Regions from separate parts of the Homo sapiens genome. Here region 2 is linked to region 1. The links are contacts of gene promoters, found by promoter capture Hi-C in human tissues and cell types (Jung and others, 2019). All regions are on one chromosome and are shown on one strand. The core of a region is centred on a gene start or on the middle of the fragment in contact, and the rest is flanking DNA. Distances in the headings are between cores, read along the strand shown. Region 1 holds the start of KRT79 (keratin 79). Region 2 overlaps KRT86 (keratin 86).

Region 1 (6,805 bases), core at 1,460-3,959:
CTGCTGGTGTCTCCCTTTGGTCAACTCAACTGGAAGCCAGAGTGCCAGGGAGCAGCCCACAAGGGTCAGAGGAAGGTGGAGAATGGAGCGGGAGGGAGGCAGATGGAGCATCACCCAGTGCGGAGACTCAACATGCCATTGCAGGGAAGGCATCCAGGCCACTCTGCTGCATAGTACGTGCTCAGTAAGTGTTGACTGTAATAATGATGATAATTAGCTCAGAAAGCCCTACCCTCTTGGGGCTCCTTTGTCCCTGTAACTTTCCTATTGCTCGGCACCCGGCCTGACCCATGGTAGGTGCTAGGTTGGCAGTATCCACTCTCTTGCCCCCTCCCTTTGGTGGCAGCAACCTTCAGTCCCCTCTGCTTTTGTGTCCTGCCATCAGGGAGGGACTCTGGGCAGGTGACAGTCTCCAGAGATGGAGCCCCTCAGTAATCAGTATAGCAGTGTGCAGCAGCTCTTCCTCTCTGTGGAGGGCAGGAGGGGAGGAAACTGCTCCTCCCTGGGCTGCAGAAAGAAGGTCTGAGCGTGCATGTCCTGTCTGAAGGTAGAGTGGAGAGTAGGGGCTGGTGGAGGCAAAGTGCCCTCCCAGGCTTCTGTCTGGGCCTGGGCTGTGAACCTGGGTGGGAGGGAGGCTGTCTCCAAGCAGCAAGCCGGGAGCTCCATGAGAGTGTGCCCTGGTCCCTGTGTGCCTGTCACCAGCTCCCAGCACAAAGCGTGGCCCAGAGAGCGTGCTTGGTAAATGTGTGCAAGGGACTGGCGTGAGTGTCGTGTCTGGGGTGAGGTGAGACTTGTGTTTATCGACTGCCTCTCACTCCCACCAGCCTGGCTGCCCTGTGACTCAGAGGGCTGACAACACTTCCTTGCCCAGGGGGCCCACAGCCACATCCTGGAGGCTAGGGCCCACTCATGACTGTTTCCTCCTCCCACGCCACCCAGGGAGAGATAAGGGAGGCTGAGAAAGTGATCTCAGCCTGGGGAAAGGAGACGAAGGTCAGTGGGAAGGGGCGGCTTCATCCAGGGATCACTTTTCGAAAGGTCTTCCACGGAGGGCCCTGCTTATAGGCAGAGAAAATGGGGCTCAGAGAAGTTGCGAGTTGCCCCAGGACACACAGCTCAGTGTGGGAGACGTCTCGGCTTGGCTCCCTGAAATGCCCAGTGTCCTAACTCCAAAATCTCCTCTTGGCTATTAAGGGACTAGTTCTGCAAGTGCTCTCACTCCCATTCCTTGTGGGAGCTGGGTTCAACCTCTTCAAGCAACGGGGAGCCACTTACAGCCTCCCAGGGGCCCTAGGAGAAGATCCCACAGCTCCCTCTGGTCCTGGAGCAGGCTGTCTCTTCACTTGCTGGGCTGTGGGGAACATGGGAGGGAGGCCAAGCCTTCTCCGTGGCAGTCCCATGTCCTCTCTGTTGGGATCCTGGGGACACAGCCTGGCTGGTTGTCCTGCTCATCTGATGGGGGTGGGGAGCACAGCGATGCTGTCCTCGCTCCTTTTTTTCAGGCAAGTCTCTGTTCACTTTGAGCCCATCTTCTTGCTGAGAGAAGGGGGTGGGGAGGGCCAGTGTCTAAAGTCACCTCCTCAGTCACCCCTCGGCCCTGACAGTTGACGTCTCTGTCTTTGCTTGGGGCTGTGTTTGGTCCCAGCAGACTGAGGTGAATAGGAAGTGGGCGGCGGGGACCATATGAGGTGATTTAAGGAGCTCCCCTGGCCCCTCTGAATCAGAAACATGGGCTCCTGCATGTGGGGCAGGGGAAGATGGGAGTGACGGGGCTGCTGCGTGGGCCTCCTGGGGCTTTTTTGGAACACCTGCTTTTTGGAGCTGTGCCTGTCTCCACCCAGGGTGGTCTGTGTCCTTGACCCACCTCCAGCTCCCTCCAAAGTGGCTGAACCTTTCTGTGGGGACTCTGCTGTGGGGTAGAGGCTCAGGGATCTCAGGTATTGGTTAAATCCCCTGCCCTCTCTTCAGCCTCCATAAGAATGTCCTTTGCTCCCAGGCTTCTGGGCCCTGCCTGAGGACCCCAGGCCTTTTCTACCTCCTGATCAAGGGCCTGGGCCCCACGATTGGGCAGGGATCCTCTTTCTGTCCTTGAATTCACTTTGCCAGCATAGGCTCACTTCCCAGAAGGCTCTGCCACTGTACGGCAGAGGCACAGGCTATCCCCACTCTCGCCCTGTCACCTGTGTCACACACCCTGGACCTGGGAGGAGTGGTGGGCCGTTGGCTGGGGGTGGGATGGGAGCAGGCCTGGATGCTCTCTCTGGCAGCCCATTGCCCAATGCTCCTTCTCCTACCACCTGTACAGCCCCAGGCCCTGCAGCCTTGGCTTACAACAGGGGCCTGGGACAAACCCCGTAGAACAGAGCCCTATTGACAGTGGCCTCTGGGGCTGGGTGGGAGGACAGCAAGCCAGCCACTGGGTGGTGGGGGTGGCCATGGGAGCCCGTATCATCCTGTGCCAACCGAGGAGAGCCTGGGGGCAGGGGGAGAAGGTGGCATCCTGCCCCAGACAGTCTCGGCTCAGCCCCAGCTCTGGAGCACAGGTGATAACCGGGAGGGCCCCTCCCTCCTGCTTGGGGAGAGGGCACTCCCCGTGGCCCTAAGGACCCCTCCCTCTCCCCTTGGGGCGATGGGGCAGGAGTGTCTGTGGAGCTGGGGAGCCGGCCCAGTTGGGAAAAGATAAAAAGCCCACAGTGGCCCAGCAGCTCACGGCACTCCCTTCCTGCCCTCTCATCCTGCCCTCCGGCCCCTCTGCAGCTATGAGGTCCTCCGTCTCTCGGCAAACATACTCCACAAAAGGGGGCTTCAGCTCCAACTCTGCCAGCGGAGGGAGTGGGTCCCAGGCCCGCACCAGCTTCAGCTCAGTGACGGTGTCTCGGAGCAGTGGCAGTGGTGGCGGGGCCCACTGTGGCCCCGGCACAGGTGGCTTTGGCAGCCGAAGCCTCTATAACTTGGGGGGCCACAAGAGTATCTCTGTCAGTGTGGCCGGAGGGGCCTTGTTGGGGCGGGCTCTGGGGGGCTTTGGCTTTGGCAGCAGGGCATTTATGGGACAGGGGGCTGGCAGGCAGACGTTTGGGCCTGCTTGTCCTCCTGGGGGGATCCAGGAGGTCACTGTCAACCAGAGCCTGCTGACCCCCCTCCATGTGGAGATTGACCCCGAGATCCAGCGAGTGCGCACTCAGGAGCGGGAGCAGATCAAGACCCTCAACAACAAGTTCGCCTCCTTCATCGACAAGGTGGGCCAAGCAGGAAGGAGGAAGGGAGCTCTTGGGGAAGAAGCGGGACCTCTAATAGAGGGTGGGCTGGGCCAGGGCTGCTGTAGCCCACTTGTACTAGGGTGGTGGTTGATAGAGCTCTGGAGCTCTCCCGGTCTGAGCCTGGGATGCCGAGACGTGGGTGGCTGGAGGCGGCCTTCAGGTCTTCACCGTGCCTGTGCGGGGGGAGTCTCCAGTCTACTCATGAGTCCGGTTTGCCAAGTCCACCTTGCCCGTGTTGAAGCCTGTCCTACCACCATGATTAATACGATTGATTGCACAGTAGCCTTACCTCATCATCAAAAAATGGATTGTCCTCATAGCTCCTCTTAGTGGGGTGGCCTGCATTGCCTTTTGTCATTTTACAGCTGGGGAAACAATGCTCAGGAGTTGAAAGAGTTGTTCAAGGCTAAGAGCATGGAGCCCTGTTTGTTCCATTCTTTCAGGCTTGGAGGAGGCTTAAGGGCAAGATGTGATCAAAACACAGTTGTGTGTGGGTGGGGTCCTAGGGGTAGGCTCCCTTCCGCTTCTCCTTTTTTTACACTCTGAGTGAAGAAGCTCAATTTGGGGTGGACAATGAGGAGGGTGGTCACCAGGTCACCAAGCTCTGGGAATGTGGAATTTGACCTGTTGCCCATAGGCATGCCCTGAACCTTGCCCTTGCCTCCAGATGGATGGGAGCAACACTTGTGCTGGGATTTCCTGGTCTGTTTCGCTGGCATTGTCCACCTCGATCCTGAGCCAAGGCAGCGGGTCATGATGGGGAAGGTCTGGCAGACAAATGTACCTTGGTTCAGTGATTTGTGTGTTTCCGAAGAACATGCACATCCCTTTTCTCCTGAGGTACCCACAGTGCTTCTATGAAGACTCAGAAATGGTGATATTGTGCCCATTTTTGAGATGAGAAAATTGAGGTCTAGAGAGCTCAAGTGATTTGCCCAGGATGATACAAGGAGTTGGAGGCAGAGGCGGGACTGGGACCCAGGCCCCTGGACTCTGTGGTTCTTGGCACTAAGAGTTGTTACTGCTCACAATAGGCACACCTGCTGCATGATGCTCCCAGGGCATGTGACTGAGGCCCAGGTAGTGTGGAGATGGGACCTGGAGATATTGGATGACAGAATATGAAGCAAGCCGTCTTGCCTGCCTCCTCACCCTCTCCCCTAGTGACTTTTGGTTTTCCTGTGGGACTGTCCCAGAGGCCAAACAAGCCAAAACCTTTCTCAGGATTGCAGAATCACAGCTTGGGAGCTGGAGGTCTGAGAGATTGTCTTGGAACCCCAGCTGGGCCAAGAACTCTCGGGGGTCCTGTTAAACCCACACCGTAAGCCTCCTTCTGAGTCTATAGAGGAAGGGCTCAGACATTGGTACTTTAAAAAAAGTTTTTTTTGGGAAAAAATGTTGAATTTACAGAAAAGTTGCAAGAATAGTACAACATACTCCTGTATACTCTTTCACCCAGTTCACCAATTTTCTTAATTTATTATTATTATTTTTTGAGACAGGGTCTTGCTCTGTTTCCCAGACTGGAGTGCAGTGGTACAGTCATAGCTCACTGCAGCCTCCATCTCTTGGGCTCAAGTGATCCTCCCACTTCAGCCTCCTGAGTAGCTGGGACTACTGGTGCATGCCACTACACCTGGCTAATTGTCTTGATTTTTAGTGGAGACAGTCTTGCTATGTTGCCTAGGCTGGTCTTGAACTCCTGAGCTCAAGCACTCCTCCAGCTTCAGGCTCCCAAAGTGTGTGATTTTAAACAGTTGATTTACATTTTAAACAGATGATTTTAATGCAGAATTAGGGGTCAGAAACATAGATCTAGTCCAGTTTATGCAGGACAAGTGAGAGAGGGAGACTCAGAGAGAAATGATTCGACCAAGGTTACCAACTAGTAAATTGGTACTGCTACTGAGCTGGGCTTTTGTGCTTATTAACTTGGTAGAGTTCTTTCCATCAGATTGGACGGTCGTTTCCAGCAGTCTATTCCCCTAAGGAGTGCCTCCCCACAGCAAAGTGTAGGTGCGGCTGCAGCGTCCCTATGTTGCCCTGGCCTTGGAGGGGAGGTGGCAATGGACCCCATCCTTGGCTCCTCTGGTGACCGGAGGGTGACATCAGCCCACCCTTTCTGCTCTGGCTCAGGTGCGGTTCCTGGAGCAACAGAATAAGGTGCTGGAGACCAAGTGGGCACTGCTGCAGGAGCAGGGCCAGAACTTGGGTGTCACCAGGAACAACCTGGAGCCCCTCTTTGAGGCCTACCTGGGTAGCATGCGGAGCACGCTGGACAGACTTCAGAGCGAGCGGGGGAGGCTGGACTCAGAGCTCAGGAACGTGCAGGACCTTGTGGAGGACTTCAAGAACAAGTGAGGAGAGCAGGCCAGGCGGGGCCATGTGGGAGTGAGGAGGGGCAGTGGGAAACCTGCCAAGAGGGCCACCCCATTCCCAGGGTCCCAGGCCCACCTGGGGGATGCACAGACAGAGCTGGCTCCCTCAGGTGCTCAGGTCCAGCACCTGCTGCCACCTGGAGAATTGGCAGGTTTGTTTGTAATTTAAAAAAGTTTTTAAAGTAGGGGGAATAGTATAATGAACCCCATGTTCCTGTCACCCAGCTTTAATCATTATCAACTCATAACCAATCTTGTTGCATTTTTTACACCTCCCCACTTCCCTTCTTCCCGTGTAGTCTTTTTTTTTTACCTTTGCCTTTTTCTACGTGTTCTGATTCCCTTGTAGTCTTGAAGCAAATCCCAGACATCTTGTCATTTCATTCACTAATATTTTACAAGTTATATTCATATATCTGCATGTGAATGTAGTTCATCTATGACTCAGTAAAACATACAGTGGCATAATCACACCTAAAAAATTTTAAAACAATAATTCCTCAATATCATTAAATATCCAGCCAGTTTTGAATTTCCAGTGACCCCATACATGTCATAAATTTAAAAAATACAGCTTATTTGACTCAAGCTCCAAAGGTTTATATATTATAATTGGTTGATATGCGTATTTATAACTTTTAAACACGCACATTTAAAAATGACTTTTCCCATAAATTGACCATGGCAATTTCTAAACCTTAAAATCTCATCAAAAGTGGTTGGGGAGGAGTTAGCTGGTTTGAATGACACTGTGTTGTTGAAAGTGATGGTAAAGGTCAGCCACTGTTGACACATCTTCACTTGTCCCTCTAAAGCCTCCTAAGGGCTTGGATCCAAAGAGATGGCAGCTCTTGATTGCCATATTATTGCACAAATTCTGTGCCTCTTTCCCTAAAATGGGGTGGGGAGAGAGAATGTTTAAATCAAGGCAGACCCCATGTTTCTTCACTGGTTGGCTACATTAAAGAACTGCTCCCCAGAGGTGTTCTTGATCAGTGAGGGACCCATCAGGGCTTCTGTAAGGCTGAGTGGGTCCCATGCCTGAAAGGCAGAGCCAGGCTGAGCCTGGCCTGAGTCTCCCATGTGTAACAGGTACGAGGATGAAATCAACAAGCACACTGCTGCAGAGAACGAGTTTGTGGTGCTCAAGAAGGTGAGCCGAGTGGAGTG
Region 2 (6,291 bases), core at 3,684-6,183, 550 kb after region 1:
ATGAATATGATTTAAAGTTTCAAAAAGCCTTTGATGTTGGCTTTCTTTTTTTTTTTTTTAAATGGCATCACTCTGGGGTTTTGGAGACCTGCCACAGCTGATACATTTTCCTCAAAGACAGAAAACAGCACATAGCAAGATGATGTGGCATAGAGGGGGGACACGGACTCCAGCCAGACTGCCTGGGCCCCAAGCTGGGCCCTGGTCCTTCCTAGGTGAGTGGGTTGGGCAATGTATTTACCCTCTCTGTGCCTGTTTCCACACCTCCAAAATGAGGATGATAGAAAGGGCAACCACCTCATAAGTTGATGAGTTAAAGGATTTCATATACGTAAAAGGTTTAGATGGTGCATGCCACAAAATTATCACTCTATTTTTTATCATTAGTGTTATTCTTTTGCAGAATGTAAAGTAGAAGTCCCTCTAGGGATCAGGGCCTCTTATGGCCAACCTCTTATTACATTGATATCTGTGATCAGAGATTGCAAGTACAGAGAGAAACCTCCGTGGTTACCAGGGCCATTCAGCTCCTTCATGCATGGAAGTATTAACTTGACACTGACGAGGTAGGGGAAGGGGAAGATGACAGCTCAGCCCCACTATGGGCCAAGGTGACTCCCTGAACATACATCTTTAAGCCGGAGTGAATCTCTAAACTTCCAGTCCAAGGCCCAGAAAATACAGCAGAAATGGGAGTCCCCCACCCCTACCCTTCTGGGCACTAGAAATTATTAAGAATATTAAGAGACCAGAAGTGAGTGGACTGAAAAGAACAAATTCTCCTGTAAAAGCTAGAATCAAACCAAGGTCTCTCAGCCACCCCTGATGGAATTCTGAGAGGGACACAATCCTAGAAAGTTCCAGAATTTGTGATCAATCATTCCAACCAGCCCTGTATGCTGTGACATCACACAGCTCAGAAGCTGGCCCTAGGCCAGGTGCAGTGGCTCACACCTATAATCTCAACACTTTAGGAGGCCAAGGTGAAAAGATCGCTTGAGCCCCAGAGTTAGAGATCAGCCCAGACAATACAGTGAGACTCTATCTCTATAAAATATAAAAATATTAGCTGGGCGACGTGGTGTGCACCTATAGTCCCAGCTACTTAGGGGGCCGAAGCAGGACAGCTTGAGCCCAGGAAGTTGAAGCCGCACAGTGAGCCATGTTTGTGCCACTGCCTCCAGCGTGGGCGACACAGCAAGACCCTGTTTCAAAAAAATAAAAAAACAAGAAGCAGCAGCAGCAGCAGCAGCCCCTGTCAGGAGTCCAGACCTGAGACTCAAGCACCAGCTCCATCCCTCCCTAGTTCAGAAGCCAACTACAACTCCAGTCCTGATGGACTTCTCACCTATTCCAACTTCAGCCTAGCTGGGCCTTAGTGACCTGCCGTATTTCACTCCCTCACTCTCCCTCTAGCTCTGACCCTCTCTTCCTTCCTACTCCGGCCCCACAATCCTCACCTCCCTCTAGGTTCCCATTCCTGCACAGGCTCAGACAGAGGAGCAAGGCGGGAAGGAATCAAACACATAATGCCCCGGGTGCAGAATGGTGAAGAAAATGGAACATCTCACTGTGTGACCTTTAGCAAGTCACCTCCCATCTCTGGGCCTTAGTGTATCTGCTAATGAAATACAATGTTTGGGGCTGGGCGTGGTGGCTCACGCCTGTAATCCCAGCACTTTGGGAGGCCGAGGTGGGCAGATCACCTGAGGTCAGGAGTTTGAGACCAGCGTGACCAATAGGAAGAAACCCCATCTCTACTGAAAATACAAAAAATTAGCCAGGCGTGGTGGTATGTGCCTGTAATTCCAGCTACTTGGGAGGCTGAGACAGGAGAATTGCTTGAGCCTGAGAGGTGGAGGTTGCAGTGAGCCAAGATGGCGCCATTGCATTCCAGCCTGGGCAACAAGAGCGAGACTCTGTCTCAAAAAAAAAAAAAAAAAAAAAAAAATGCTTGGATTAGGTGGCTACTAACATCCCTTACCAATTTAAAGCTCTATTATTCTTTTTTTTTTTTTTTTTTTTTTTTGTGAGACAGTTTCACCCTGTTGCCCAGGCTGGAGTGCGGTGGTGCAGGCTCAGCTCACTGCAACCTCCACCTCACTAGTTCAAGCAATTCTCCTGCCTCAGCCTCCCAAGTAGCTGGAACTACAGGTGCCTGCACCACACCGGGCTAATTTTTGTATTTTTAGTACTGACGGGGTTTCACCTTATTGTCCAGGCTGGTCTCAAACTCCTGACCTTGTGATCCACCCACCTCAGCCTCCCAAAGTGCTGGGATTACAGGCATGAGCCACCGCACCCAGTCAACTCTGTTATTCTTTGGGAGAGGTGGGACAGGATTAGGGGCTAGAGGGAAATGGGGAGTCCAGGTTTCATGCAACTGTGCAGTGTATGCGCATGTTGTTTGTATATTCATTCTGCATTGCTCAATGCCTAGAGGTAACTGCGAGTGGAGCAATATGATTGCATCCAGGTACATGCACATTCCAGGCACCTGTGTGGAAACGTGTGTGTGAGAGAGATGGTGAGGGTTTCTAAATGTGTGATTATACATGGTGGACATGTGTGCATCTATGTGCTGAAAAAGGGAGATTTGTGGGTACATGTGGATGTGAGTGCAGTGTGGGTACATGGGTAGACCCATGTGTGCTGGTGAGGTAGGGGTCACCGATGGGGAGTGGGGCTAAAGTGGGCGTAGTGATGGGCAGATGCTGCTGGGGGTCATACTAGGGAGGTGCCCTCTGGCCAAGGAGCCCTTGCTCTAACCCCTAGGCTTGCCTACTTATTCCTCCTGCCCTATGGTCACTCTCACTCCAGGTGGGGCAGATGGAGTTCAGCCACCCTTGGACTTTGGAGAGCTTTCTTTAAAGGGGCTCAAAACTTGGCCGGGCGCGGTGGCTCACGCCTGTAATCCCAGCACTTTGGGAGGCTGAGGCGGGCGGATCACGAGGTCAGAAGATCGAGACCATCCTGGCTAACACAGAGAAACATCGTCTCTACTAAAAATACAAAAACAAAATTAGCCCATCACGGTGGCAGGCGCCTGTAGTCCCAGCTATCTGGGAGGCTGAGGCGGAAGAATGGTGTGAACCCGGGAGGCGGAGCTTGCAGTGAGCCAAGATTGCGCCACTGCAGTCCAGCCTGGGCGACAGAGCAAGGCTTTGTCTCAAAAAAAAAAAAAATTGTTTCAGGGGGCTCAAAAACCTTCTAAAGAATTCCAGTAAGTGAAATAATAGTTACACTTACATAACTTCCTATGCTTTAAGCACTTTACATGCAGCAATACCTTTTCTCAAACAACCCTCTGATAGTTACTCTATTTTGCAGCTAACCTTTGGCTCAGAGGGACTAAGTAGGGAAGAAAACAAGGAAAAAGAAAGCCAAGCACAGTGGCTCACATCTGTAATCCCAGCACTTTGGGAGGCTGAGGCAGGAGGATTGCTTGAGGCCAAGAGTTTGAGACCAGCCTGGGCAGTATGGTGAGACCCCATCTCTACAAAACTTTTTTTTTAATTAGCAGAGCGTGGAGGCATGTGCCTGTAGTCCCAGCTACTGAGGAGGTTGAGGCAGGAGGATCGCTTCAGCCCAGGAGGTTGAGGCTGCAGTGAGCTATAATCCTGCCACTGCACTCTAGCCTGGGTGATAGAGCAAGACTTCATCACTACAAAAATAAATTTAAAATTAAATAAGAAGGAAAAAAAGAATCTTCACAATTTAGATCTAGAGGAGGGCAGGACTGAGGCCCAGAAACAGGTGAAGAGTTTGGACAAGGTAAGAATAAGACTGGGAACAGGATCAAGGCCCTTCCTTCCTTACTCCAGGCTGGTCTGGTTGATCTCTTACAGCTGAAATCACAGCAGGAAGGACTGCATTTAGACTCCACAAGAGACTTCCAAGGGGTTATGCAGAATGCCACATGCCAATGGTCAAAAACAGGGCCCAATACATCTCAGGACAGGACACACCAACCAGGACCATGCAGCCTCAACCCCATCACATCTACTCTGTGGCAGACCCTGAGGATGGATGAGACCTTCACTGCCCTCCTGGGGCTCAGATAGAGACATGACCACAGCCAAGTTAGCATCTGACATGTTTAAATACAACGGAGTGTGAGGCAGGCATGCAGAGCCAACAGAGGACTCACACCTTATAGTGCCCTTCTGCTGAGAAGCAATGACTGAACTGAGGACAGCCCTCCTCCCTTCAGAAGCCACCCGACTCACAAAGCTTATAAATGGGCTGGGGAATGACTCTCCATAAATGCACTGGGCAGTTTCCTCCCACCCCAGTCTGGAATGTGGCCCATGGCCAGGGGAGCCTCTCAGGGAATTAGTCTCCAAACCACAAACATTGCTTGTGATCCACAGGGCCCTGGCCCAGGAAGAAACTCAAACCTGACCCCAAAGCCCTGGGGATCTTCTGGATTGACATCAGGCAAGTCCAGGTTCGGTATTTGAAAAGGGAAAATGTGAGCAACAGTCCTGAGTGACGCAGGTTGCAGAATGTACATCCTAGATCCTGCCTACAATTCCCACAAAGTTCCCTTGTTGACATGATCATCATAGCAGGAGCTGGAGAAAATTGGGCTTGAATAGCAGAGAATCTCATGATCCCCTAGCAAAATGCAAGGAGCACAGAGCTGGACTAAAGAATCTTGAAAGAATCTTCAGGCAGCTTGTTTGCATTTGCGAGTGTTGGCAGGTCAGTATTTATCAACCAGGGCTGATGTGTGAGCCCAGTGGGGTCATGCCCCCTACCCCTCAGGAGGGTGGCATCCGGCTAGCCAAGTTTCAGTCCCATTCCTCTTGCATGAGACTTTTCTGTTTACACAAGAAGAGGGCCTTTTGGATACCTGTCCTCTGGGCAGGCACCCAGAAGAACACAGCAGACACTCTGGCACTAGAGTGCCTTAAAAAGTAAAGCCCAAGCCTCTGGCCAATGACGCACTTCAGCCCCACCCAGGGACATAGAAAGCAGAAACTATTGTTGCATTGATGATGTAATTTCATGCAATAGAAAGGAATGTGGGCTCACTGTACAGAAGCTTCTCTTGGGTCTGTGTGGCAGGGAAAGAACCCAGAAATCCAGCCTTTATCTAGCCACCCCACTCTATCTTCCGACCACCAAAATCCAATGCCTTGTAAAAACTCGGACCAACTTACACCCTGGATCTGAAGTAGAGACAGAGCTGGAGCCTCCGTCTGATTTCACAGCCCACAATTTCCTCCACCATAGTGTGTTGTTCCTCTGCCCGCCACCAGATCATATTAACACAACTCGGTGGCCCAATTGTGTGTTAAACCAGAACCCAAGCTTGGGCCACCCAATTGTGTTCATCTCTCTCCAGCCCCCATCTGCAAGGGCCACCTGTCTTCAAATGCCCCATCAGGGTGATAGAAGGCACTGGCCCAATCCCCATCTCACCCTTTTCTGTTTCTGCTCGGTTTCCTCGTCTATGGCCCACCTCCCTACCCAGAACCTCATCTCCAGGAATCCTAGAGTGTCTTCCTCACCATCCTGTCCCCTGAACCAAGCACTATGAGGCCATTCAGTAAGTATGTGTAGAGTGAATGGATGGATGGAGAATGGAATTCTCAGCTCTGCTGCCCAGAAGCTATGGGCCCCAGGCTAGACTCTTCTGCATGAATGAACCCTTTCTCTCGCTTTCCCCATGGACTCCGGGCTCCCCATCCTAAAGACTCTGGTTCTATAATATCGAATCATCATATACTTAAGTCACATAGACCCTCACAGCAGGAGGGGAGGAGGTTGCTTCCTGGTACTGTTCTCGCCCTGACCCCTCCACCGCAGCCAGGTTTGTCTGTGCTCTGGGAATGGCCTGGAGAATCCGGGTTTAAACTCCTGGCAGCTCAGACCACTCCACAACTTTTTATTGCAGAGAAGTCCCTGGAAAGAAGGGGTGGGAACAGTTCAGAGGGGCAGGGTTCTTGGTCCAGGTAAGCTGGCCACCTCTACCCAATGGCACCAGCGTCCAGGCCATCTGCACTGGGGATGGTCAGTCATAGTCCTGTAAGCTGTGCTCCAACGCCTCACGTCCCGGTGTGGGAGGCAAAAAGGAAAGATGATGTGGGGTCAGCTCTATGGGAGGGGGCATCTGACACAAGAGGGCTAAGTCTTTAGGGCAGAAGCTGAGGGTTCCTTGTCTTCTCCGGAGGGAGGCGGGAAGGGTTCAACATCTGCGGGAGCTGTGTAGCTAAAGCCCACGGACACAGCCGGGAGAGCCGCAGAGCGCGTAGCCGCCGCCAGGGGCGCTCGTCTCCAGGG

What was found. Contacts are between HindIII fragments. The study calls those that stand out against the background at their distance.
Region 2: a fragment that was not itself captured here is called in contact with the fragment with the promoter of KRT79 in region 1 in 1 of the 25 tissues and cell types used here (thymus).

Annotation. Positions count from the first base shown.
Region 1 is chr12:52,830,215-52,837,019 of GRCh38, reverse strand. It overlaps KRT79 (keratin 79), which reads left to right and starts at 2,709. Exons shown (of 9, transcript NM_175834.3): 1 at 2,709-3,236; 2 at 5,394-5,614; 3 at 6,728-6,788. The coding sequence starts at 2,760. RefSeq lists an enhancer at 1-237. The HindIII fragment of the contact is 20,589 bases long and covers 1-6,805 here.
Region 2 is chr12:52,279,131-52,285,421 of GRCh38, reverse strand. The region is part of intron 2 of KRT86 (keratin 86); the gene reads right to left. KRT86-AS2 (KRT86 antisense RNA 2) reads left to right here and starts at 6,266. Exons shown (of 2, transcript NR_199073.1): 1 at 6,266-6,291. RefSeq lists an enhancer at 4,146-5,345. The HindIII fragment of the contact is 5,713 bases long and covers 2,077-6,291 here.